Linked DNA regions of Homo sapiens: region 2 is linked to region 1. Evidence: promoter capture Hi-C in 16 types of primary human blood cells and fetal thymus (Javierre and others, 2016). All regions are on one chromosome and are shown on one strand. The core of a region is centred on a gene start or on the middle of the fragment in contact, and the rest is flanking DNA. Distances in the headings are between cores, read along the strand shown.

The links. Contacts are between HindIII fragments. The CHiCAGO score rates a contact against its expected background, and 5 or more counts as called.
Region 2: a contact is called between a fragment that was not itself captured here and the fragment with the promoter of RTL3 in region 1, in 1 of 17 cell types (megakaryocytes). The highest score is 5.1, in megakaryocytes.

The regions. Positions count from the first base shown.
Region 1 is chrX:78,657,021-78,662,871 of GRCh38, forward strand. It overlaps RTL3 (retrotransposon Gag like 3), which reads right to left and starts at 2,308. Exons shown (of 2, transcript NM_152694.3): 1 at 2,241-2,308; 2 at 1-1,628. The coding sequence starts at 1,400. All of the region lies in intron 1 of LOC107985670 (a long non-coding RNA gene), which reads left to right. The HindIII fragment of the contact is 2,616 bases long and covers 649-3,264 here.
Region 2 is chrX:78,882,300-78,888,150 of GRCh38, forward strand. No RefSeq gene overlaps it. Among named protein-coding and RNA genes, the nearest start is that of MIR4328, 16 kb to the right of the region's middle. The HindIII fragment of the contact is 5,006 bases long and covers 1,117-5,851 here.

The DNA.
Region 1 (5,851 bases), core at 1,058-3,557:
TGCAGGGCCTGATGAGGCTTGACAGGGCAATCTCTGGCAAAATGACCAGGATAACCACAGTAGAGGCATAAGCGGCCTTTGTGCCAACGGACCCATTCAGCTTCACTGATGTGTGGGCAGTTGATTGCAGCCTGCATAGGTTGGTTTTCAGCTGGTGGACTCTCGGGTCCATCTCCCTCTGCAGAGGAACTTTTCCCTAATGGATTGGGATCAGGCTTCTCTTCCAGGCTGATGCACTGAGTGATGAGATCAGATAGGTTGGTGGCTGGGCTTGTGTGAGACAGTTCATCTTGTATAGAACTGGCAAGACCTTCTTGAAATTGGATCCAGAGAGTGCTTTCATCCCAGTTCAGCTCTTGAGCAATGAGGTGGAAGTGGGTTGCTACATGACCCTCCCCTTGGCAGAGTTGATGGATGCACTGGTTGGCATCTTTCATGTTTTCTGGATTATCAAAAGTATCCTGGAGCACAGGTATGAAACTTTCACATTGCTCCAGTAAGGGGCTTTGGATATCCAGTAAGAGCTGGAACCACCATCCTGCCCTACCTGAGAAGCAATTGCCAACAAAGCTCACCAGGGCTGCTTCAGTGGGATACAGGTGCCCTCTGACTCTCATGTAACTATACAGCTGAACCAGGAACTCAGGAAGCTTCTGGGAATCTCCACTGAAGGTTAAAGTGTATTGCAGGGGGAAATCTGTAGCCTCTAACCCAATAGGGGCCTGTGGAAACTCTGAAGCTGCTGATGTCTCCACAACTATTAGACCCTCCAGGGACTCCTGGGCTGCTGAGAGTTCTAGGAATTCCTGGGCATTTGAAGGCTCCAGAGGCTCCTGGGGAGGTGGAAGCTCAAGGAACTCTAGCTGTGCTGCAGTTTCCTGGTATTCTGGTGCCTCCTGGGGCTTCTCAATATTTGGGGGATCCTGGGGTTCTGAATTCTTGGGCTCTTGGGCTATTGTGGCATCCTGGGTGTTTGCAGGCCCCTGGCCCTCCAAGACTGTTGGGATCTCATGGGCCATTGGAGGTTTCTGGGACTCCCGGGTTGCTGGAGGCGCCAGGGACTCTGGGGCTGCTGGGGCCTCCTGGAGTTCCCAGGCTGCTGGGGGTTCCCAGGGTAGAAGATCCTGTGGCTCTGGTGGCTTCTGGGGTTCCTTGAACTCTGGGGTCTTTTGGGCCTCCCAGGCTGCTGGGGGATTCATGTGCTCTGGGAGCTTCTGGGGCTCCTTGGCCTCTGAGGACTTTCGGAGTAGATCATACTCCTTGGCTGCTTGGGACTTCTGAAGCTCTGGGATCTGGGCCTGGAGAGCAGCATTTTCTTCCATCAGCCACTGCACTTGAGCCTGCCGAATTTCATTCTCCAATTTCAGAACAATATAGGAGGCTGCTAAGTCCTCCACCATCTTTTGAGGAAATGGGTATGATTTGACAATTTGCTACCAAGAGAGATTGGGTGGGTGTTTGTGAGATCCTTCCTGAAAGCTGCTTACAGGCAGATGTCAGGCTCAGTGAGTTTTCCAAGGGGTGGTATTTGGGCCCCGCCAAGGCTGATTATCAAGAGGTCACTGGGAGCCTCCGGAGCTCGGCAAGAAGGAGCCTCCGGAGCTCAGTAAGGGGAAGTGTCAGATACACTGCGAAGAGAGTGGGAGCTGAGGATCAGAAACTGTGGAAAGCACACATTCAACATAAAACAAAATCTGCCCAACAATGCTGGGTTTCTTTTACCATAGGCTTATGTTCATGAGCTGGGGTATATATGCTGGATCTGACTCCACGACATTTTAAGAACAGCATCTGTCCCAAACTGCACATGTCATTTTGCATTTATCCTTTGAAACTTAACATTATATCAAAAGCAACTTTTTAATATTATTTTCTGTTTTATATAGTCTTTAATCTTGAATATCTGCCTAATATCCCAATGTAACATTTGGATTTTAACAGCTGCTTTCAGTGACTAAATCAAATGTTTGAGCAATGTGGGAATTTTAGGCTCTGCGGTGGGCCAGCCCAAGAGATATTTTTGGGTGACTAGGGTGGTAGGAAGTAGGAGGGAGCTCTTTCTGACACCTCAGAAATCATACCACATAAGTAACCACACAAGACCAGCCTCAGGAGAAAACAAGCAAAAGTCGACTAAATATATATATATATATATATATATGCCCTCAGAAGACACATGCATATTATTTATAAAATACCTCAAAATAGTTAAGAAAATAATCTTTATAAATGTACGTTACCATTCAGAGACTTAGTCCAGGAGCTTGGCTGTCTGTGTACCCATTGCTGAGGAGGGAAATGTGTAAATGGCTGTGGAGGCTTGCCTTTTCTGCACACACTGAACTCAAGCAAACACACCCACTCCCAGAACACATTCCAACTTTCCTCTGTAACATAGCTTTTTAAAGTGTGGAAGAGTTTTTTGACAGTACCTCACAGTTCAGAGCTGCAAGGAAAGTAGGATGCTGTGCTGATGTGAAGCAGCTTCATGTACTCAGTCCTTGGTTACTTTAATGAATATTTGGCCAGGAAATTGTGAGTAATACCACTGCCCTTGTGAAAAGTTGCAAACATTTTTGAATGACCACAGTGGTTTGGGATGTGATTTTTTATGTCTGTCTCATCTAACCTATTCTTACTCTGTCCAAATTGGGCCATTTGTTTACTTCTCACTCAGGGAACAGCCTGCAAACCCTCAGCCCCTTCCCTTGCTTACTACCTATTCAGTCCCTAGGGTTTTTCCTTGCAATGTTTTCTTGGAAAATTTGCCACAGACAGATCTAGAAAAGGTATAAAAGGGTACAAATGTCAGGGAGACCAATTGTGTTGGTGGGTACTTATAGCAGTCTTACAGAGTCCCTGGCTCTTTCTGAATGTCCTGGACCAAAGATCTCATGCTTCCCTGAACTGATCAGGTGCTCCAGGTAGCACTCAGGACATTCACTAAAGACTGGCCTCTTGGGAAGTAACCCTGCTCAGAATCTCACTTTCTCTTCTCATGCCAGATCACAGTTATGCCTTGGGTATGGGCTATGTGGCCATTTTAGGCAAGGCTTAGGGGCAACTATTTTTATCCAAGTAAGGAGTGGGGTTGAGGTTTGCATTTGGCCATTTCAAATCACACATCATGTCAACCACAGTCCCATGTCTCCTTCACAAATGGTCAGTTCTGCATTAGTCAGCATAATGGGATAAACCCTAGTGATGGAATAGGCCCAAAACATAGCAAATTGACAGACTGGGCTACCTGAATCCGAATGCAGAAGCTTTGAAAGTAAAAACAAAATCTTTTGCAAATCGAGTTTATTCTTTCCTTACCTTTCAAAGTTTTATTTTTCTAGAAACACCACACATATAAAAATACCACCATCATCAGGGATGATGTGATCTATTTATGTGAAGTTTTCAGATAACTGAAGCCTTCCTGCCCTCCAAGAAGCCAAAACACACAGTTAACATTTATTTTATCCAGAAAGAAAAGAGAACTTCCAACACCTGAATTTGTAACGGGCTTAGTTAGGGAACAACTATTAATTGAAACTCTTTCCTAATGTTTAGCAATTTCTGTAACAATGAGTTTGAAGGTTCAATACTGGACATCAAGTTGAAATTTAATAAAGAGTATTTCAATTTAAAAAAATCAGAGAAATATTTATAGCATATGTTATACCTCTTTGTCCATTCTTAAGAAATGATTTTGCATATAATTTAATCCAGTTTTAATGGTTTGGATTCATACTTACACAAACCAGCTAGTTTACCCTGTTGTAACACAGTGTTGCCCTCTGAAAGCTACTGAGAGGTATAAAGTGGTCTGTCTTCAAATTAAAAACTTCCAAATTGCTATGTTTTGCGACTTCTTGTATTTTCTTTTCCTTTATATTTTTATACTCTTTTGCAATCAAGTTGTAACATAGCCCTTCATGTTATACCTATATGCCTGTCTATACTTACCCTATACAAATTTGGCAAATTACTTCATCCTTCTGATAGTTAGAATCTAAACTTTAGTTTATGAAACTGTAAAATGAAGTTATTAATATTATTTGACTTTATAGGGTTGTCAAAAATTCAGTGAAATAATGTGTGAAAAAAGGATTAGCACAGTGTCTGGCAGCTAATAACACCCAATAAAGGTTAATAATAATAATAATAATAATAATAATAAGCTGTAGCAGCAGTAATCTCATTTTAATTTATTCTTTTTAATCACCTGTGAATTGGGAAACTGAATAGGTAAACATGCTAGAGTTGTGTAGAGGCTGAGAAAGGGGTCTCATACCGAGAAATCTACAGTGCATCGATTTTACAGCATTGGTTTTTCACCACTTGGGAACTTTTATCTATTCTTCCTTGCTGGGATATAGATGGTTTAGTTTCCAGATAGTACTCTAGAATCAGGACTGGAGGCACCTGAGCAGGAAGATTAGAAGATTAAAACTGGAATTGTGAAGCAGCCAAGATAGATGTTTAAAAAGTTCATGGACTAAAGCACTGAAAAGTGTCTTGCCTACAGGAATATTTATTCAGTGTATAAACACAGAAACCTTTCCTTCCCCAGCCCCCTACACTAAACAGCAAAGACCGAATTCACCGTCCTTAAGTACAAGTTCAAACTGCCTAAACATAGAGAATTATTCTTTTCTGGGTGGAAAAGGCAGCTACACAGACTTTTGTCAAAACGCCTAAAGTGGTTTCAGCATCCTGAATTAGTTAAGTGAGAACAGGAAAGTAAGAATAAGAAAGTAATCACATCCAAATTTTCATCATGTTTCCCCTACACTGTAATTCTTCTTCATACATTTACAATATGATGGAATGTATGGATCCTTTAGAACGGTCATGAAAATATTTTAAGTAAATGAGATTTTGTTAACTATGCAAATGAATATTTCAGGGAGAAAAGAGACAAATATGCTCATTTAACAGATATAAAAAGACTACACACTAATAAGAAATATTCAGGCTCAGTTATGTTAATAAGCTACATATGCTGATTGTTAGCTTAGGGAGAAAAGGAAAGAAAAGGTTGAATGCAATGCAGTTCTACTTTGTACATTCCACTGGCTCATAATTTTCTTTCGTCGGCAAATATACAAACTAAATGTTTTAGGTCTCTCCCAGGGTCTTCCTCCCCTAAGCTGGCTGGGCTGCATCTTTAAGCAACTCCAGCTTCTGTCCCTCCCTTTTCCCACTCTGAAAAACAGTCAATGGGACAGTTTACCCTACAGGTCTCTGGCGCAAGGCCCAGTCACCCCTTGGGGGCAGTCCCATCCTGGTGTGTGTTTTATTTAACATATTATTCCTATGGTTACATTATAGCTTGCAACACTTTCTTAAATTTAACCTATAATGTGATTAGTACAGAATGAAACTTTTCATTGTCAACAACACCCCATAATATAGCACTGGGGCAACAGGAGTTCCCAATTTCTCTGGAAGTTAGAAGGCTGACCAAAAATTCTCTTTACTCATAAGGCCAGGACCCAGAGGACCTAGTAATGGTATGGAAACAGAGTCTATCCCACACAGGAGTCAAAATTTGTCACTCATCTCCCTTTACGAAATTTACAACCTTCTCACTTTATTTCTTATCCCATACTTAGGAGGCTTTTCCGCTTGATCAGCTGTCACACTGGGAAAGTAAGGCCCTACTGAAATACTAACTCGTAAGACTTTAAAAAATCTTTCTTGGGGGTGTGTGCATTTTCATAGGATATTTTGAAAGACTGCAATCCATTCAAGACTCTTCTGTTAGGAGAGATACCCTTGGTCAGAGATATCATTTTGGTGTCCTTCAGATTACACCTTGTCAGTGGCCTTATATTTGATTTCCTTATAAAGTTGACCC
Region 2 (5,851 bases), core at 2,370-4,869, 230 kb after region 1:
TTTAACTGTGTCCCAGAGATTCTGGTAAGTTGCATCTTTGTTCTCATTGGTTTCAAATAACTTACTTATTTTTACCTTAATTTTGTTATTTACCCAGTAGTCATTCAGGAGCAGGTTGTTCAGTTTCCATGTAGTTGTGTGATTTTGAGTGAGTTTCTTAATGCTGAGTTCTAATTTAATTGCACTGTGGTCTGAGAGACTGTTTGTTATAATTTCCACTCATTTGCATTTGCTGAGGAGTGTTTTACTTCCAATTATGTGGTCAATTTTAGAATAAGTGCAATGTGGTGCTGAAAGGAACATATATTCTGTTGATTTGGGGTGGAGAATTCCGTAAATGTCTATTAGGTACACTTGGTCCAGAGCTGAGTTCAAGTCCTGAATATCCTTGTTAATTTTCTGTCTTGTTGATCTGTCTAATAGTGACAGTGCAGTGTTAAAGTGTCCCACTATTATTGTTTGGGAGTCTAAGTCTTTTTGTATGTCTCTAAGAGCTTGCATTATGTATCTGGGTGCTCCTTTATTGGGTGCACATATATTTAGCATAGTTAGCTCTTCTTGTTGCATTAATCCCTTTACCATTATGTAATGCCCTTCTTTGTCATTTTTGATCTTTGTTGGCTTAAAGTCTGTTCTATCAGAGACTAGGATTGCAACCCCGGGTTTTTTTGTTTTTGTTGTTTTGTTTTTGGGGTTTTCTTTGCTTTTCATTTGTATTGTAAATATTTTTCCATCCCTTTATTTTAAGCCAATGGTTGTCTTTGCATGTGAGATGGGTCCCCTGAATGCAGCACATTAATGCGTCTTAACTCTTTATCCAGTTTGCCAGACTATGTCTTTTAATTGGGGCACTTACCACAATTACATTTAAGGTTTATATTGTTATGTGTGAATTTGATTATGATGCTAGCTGGTTATTTTTCCTGTTAGATGATGCGGTATCTTAATAGTGTTGATGGTGTTTACAATTTGGTATATTTTTGCAGCATCTGGTACCAGTTTTCTTTTCCATATTTAGTGCTTCCTTCAGGAGCTCTTGTAAGGCAGGTCTGGTGGTCACCAAGTCTCTCAGCATTTGCTTGTCCATAAAGGATTTTATTTCTCCTTCACTTATGAAGCTTAGTTTGGCTGTATATGAAAATTCAACACCCCTTTATGCTAAAAAATCTCAATAAAATAGGAATTAATGGAACTTATCTCAAAATAGTAAGAGCTATTTATGACAAAGCCACAGCCAATATCATACTGAATGGGCAAAAGCTGGAAGCATTCCCTTTGAAAACTGGCACACGACAAGAATGCCCTCTCTCACCACTCCCATTCAACATAATATTGGAAGTTCTGGCCACAGCAGTCAGACAAGAGAAAGAAATAAAGGGTATTCAAATAGGAAGAGAGGAAGTCAGAGTGTCCCTGTTTGCAGATGACATGATTGTATCTTTAGAAAACCCCGTCATCTCAGCCCAAAAATTCCTTTAGCTGCTAAGCAACTTTAGCAAAGTCTCAGGATGCAAAATCAATGTGCAAAAATCACAAGCATTCTTCTACACCAATAGTAGACAGAAAGCCAAATCATGAGTGAACTCCCATTCACAATTGCTACAAAGAGAATAAATACCTAGGAATAAAACTTACAAGTGATGTTAATGACCTCTTCAAGGAGAACTACAAACCACCGCTCAAGGAAATAAGAGAGACACAAACAAATGGAAAAACATTCCATGCTCATGTATAGGAAGGATCAGTATTGTGAAAATGGCCATACTGCCCCAAGTAATGTATACATTGAATGGTATTCCCATCAAGCTACCATTGACTTTCTTCACAGAGTTAGAAAAAACTACTTCAAATATCATATGGAACCAAAAAAGAGCCCATATAGCCAAGACAATTCTAAGCAAAAAGAACAAAGCTGGAGGCATCACACTACCTGACTTCAAACTATACTACAAGGCTACAGTAACCAAAACAACATGGTAGTGGTACCAAAACAGAGATATAGACCAATGGAACAGAACAGAGGCCTCAGAAATAATGCCACACATCTATACCATCTGATCTTTGACAAACCGGACAAAAACAAGCAATAGGGAAAGGATTCCCTATTTAATAAATCATGTTGGGAAAACTGGCTAGCCATATGCAGAAAACTGAAACTGGACCCCTTTCTTATACCTTATACAAAAATTAACTCAAGATGGATTAAAGACTTAAACTTAAGATCTAAAACCATAAAAATCCTAGAAGAAAACCTAGGCAATACCATTCAGGACATAGGCATGGGCAAAGACTTCATGACCAAAACACCAAAAGCTATGGCAACAAAAGCCAAAATTGACAAATGGGATCTAATTAAACTAAAGAGCTTCTGCACAGCAAAATAAAATACAATAAGAGGGAACAGGCAACCTACAGAATGGGAGAGAAATTTTCCAATCTATCCACCTGACAAAGGGCTAACATCCAGAATCTACAAAGAACTTAAACCAATTTACAAGAAAAAAACAAACAGCCCCATCAAAAAGTGGGCAAAGGATATGAACAGACACTTCTCAAAAGAAGACATTTATGCAGCCAGGAAACATATGAAAAAAAGGTCATCATCACTGGTCATTGGAGAAATACAAATCAAAACCACAATGAGATACCATCTCACGCCAGTTAGAATGGCAATCTTTAAAAAGTCAGGAAATGACAGATGCTGGAGAGGGTGTGGAGAAATAGGAACGCTCGTACACTGTTGGTGGGAGTATAAATTAGTTCAACCATTGTGGGAGACACTGTGGTGATTCCTCAAGCATCTAGAACCAGAAATACCATTTGACCCAGCCATCCCATTACTGGGTATATACCCGAAGGATTATAAATCATTCTACTATAAAGACACATGCACACGTATGTTTATTGCAGCATTGTTCACAATAGCAAAGAGTTGGAACCAACCCAAATGCCCATCAATGATAGACCAGATAAAGAAAATGTGGCACATATACACATATACACCATGGAAAACTATGCAGCCATGAAAAAGGATGAGTTCATCTCCTTTGCAGGGACATGGATGAGGCTGGAAACCATCATTCTCAGGAAACTAACGCAGGAACAGAAAACCAAACACTGCATGTTCTCTCTCATAAGTGGGAGTTGAACAATGAGAACACATGGACAGGGGGAGGGGAATATGACACACCGGGGCCTGTCAGGGGGTGGGGGGCTATGGGACAGATAGCATTAGGAGAAATACCTAATGTAGATGACGGGTTGATGGGTACAGCAAACCACCATGGCATGTGTATACCTATGTAACAAACCTGCACGTTCTGCACATGTATCCCAGAACTTAAATTATACAACAAAAGGTAAATAAATGGCTTTTAAATAACTTTAAAAATTGCTTTCTCCAGGATCATAATTTCAGGATTTTGATGTTTTGGGATTTCAGCATTCAAGATTATGGCATTTGTGATTGTATCTTTTAGGATTATGATTGGATCCTTTATATAAAAATGATCAGCATAGAGGAGTTAGTGGAGCCCATGAATATAAATTAGGAATAGTGATGGTGATGATGGTGATGACGATGATGATGTTGATGATGATGATGATGATAGTAACAATAAAAACTAGTATTCTTTTAGTATCTACTATTATATATGCCAGACGCTATGTAATTTATTTCTCACTTCACCCTGATGAGATGAAATGATTTGTCCAGGGTAATAAAATTGGTTAATGGTGGAACTTATATTTTAATTTAGGACTTGTTGATTTTAGAAATTAAGAGAACACAGAGAATGGAATGCTAGAGAATGTTGCCATTTGAGAGACTGACACAGAAAAAAACTAAAGGATACAGAGAGAAAACAGGCAGAGAGTTAGGAACAAACTTTGACAAAATGTCTGATGGAAATTAAGGAAGTGCAGGACTTTAAGAAGGAACAGTAGATATTAGATAACTTTGGTAGTATAGAATAGTGGTTATTGGCACAGAATCTGAACCCTAGAGTCTAGTGTTGCAACACAACTTTGCTATTTATTAGCTGTGTGATCTCAACCAGGGTACTTGTCCTCTCTGTGCATCCCTTTCTAATCTAGAAAATAATGATAAGAATAGTTGATTACCTCACAAGGTACCTTGAGTTGACTACCTCACAAGAAAAGGAATTGGGTTAGCTGGAGAAGAAAGTGAAGAGCTGAGTGTGGGTGAGGGAAAACAGAGGGGCTGAGAGACTAAAGAGAATAAAATGGTTGAAGAACATGGATAAGGAACTGACTGGGTGCTGGCACTAACTAGCTTGTGACTTTGGACAGGTCACCTCCCTAATGAGGCCCCAGTTTTTTTGTTTTTTGTTTTTTTCATTTTAAAAATGAAGATGCTGTAAGATGTGATCTGTGTACAATCTTTGTCCGATTCTGGATTCTACTTTTCCTTCTTTCATTGCACTGCCACCTAGTGTGTATAAAGTATATAGAAGAGACGCTATAAGAAAGAAATGCAAAAGAATCGGTGTTACCCTCTATTGCCTCGTCTTCACCCATCTGATGTCAGAAGCAACAAATAATATCAGTGGACTTAGAAGACCAAAGTGATGGAAGAGTCGTGGATGAATGGAGCCTGGGACCTGAATCATTACTAAAAGATGAACTGCTTAGAAATGTCACTTAATAAAAAACATTCTGTTGGACTGTTGCATGAGTAAGAAATACACTTTTGTATTAAAATACTGAAAAAAAGGTGGGGGGAGGGCAGGCGCGGTGGCTCACACCTGTAATCCCAGCACTTTGGGAGGCCAAGGCGGGTGGATCACCTGAGGTCGGGAGTTCAAGACCAGCCTGACCAACCTGAAGAAACCCTGTTTCTACTAAAAATACAAAATTGGCCAGGCGTGGTGGTGCATGCCTGTAATCCTAGCTACTTGGGAGGCTGAGGCAGGAGAATCCCTTGAACCTGGGAGGCGGAGGTTGTAGTGAGCCGAGATCGTGCCATTGCACTCCAGCCTGGGCAACAAGAGTGAACTCTGACCCAGAAAAAAAAAAAAAAGAGTCATTTTAAGAAAATAAAAACCATGAGCAAGTATGTTTACGGAAGAGTGAGGATACACCTGGATGAATTATATCTGAGACTGTTGAATATTTGCTTGCCTTTTTCTCTCAGAAATATTTTTCTTTTCATGACTCACCTCTCCCATTTTTCCCAGATACCATTTCTACTTAGAGGCAGTCTCACTTAGTGTCTGGCTCTTAGAGAGAAATAATTTCAGATACTTTCAGAGTTTCAAAAAAAAATCAATAGCCTTTTTAAGTTCCAAATAAACGAATGTCTAATGGAGAAATTTAAGATGATACTAATATTGGTAGAGTATGTATATTTGACCGATAACGTCTCTTCAAATTATCTTCTTCCACAGTGGATGGTAGTTAGTCCAAATATACTGGCAAGGGGGAGCAAGTGTGAACCAGTTGGAAAAGGTGAAGCAAGCAAAGGAAATGAGAACAAGGCATCAAAAATGCATTTTTTAACAAATAGAAACATAATTTCATTGAATGAGCAAAATTTGGTGCAATAAGGAAGTTTATAAGACTTTGGGTCTTCTCATATTTATATCCAGTATTATAAGCACATACCTCAATTTACTGCACTTCGCTTAATTGTGCCTTGTAGATATTGCTTTTTTTTTTTTTTTTTCCAAATTGAAGGTTTGTGGCAGTCCTGTGACCAGCAAGTTTATCAGCACCATTTTTCCAACAGCAGGTGCTCACTTCATGTCTTTGTGTTACCTTTTGGTAATTGTTACATTTTCATTATTTTTATATAATTAAACTCTTTCATTTTTTTTTGTCTATTATGGTA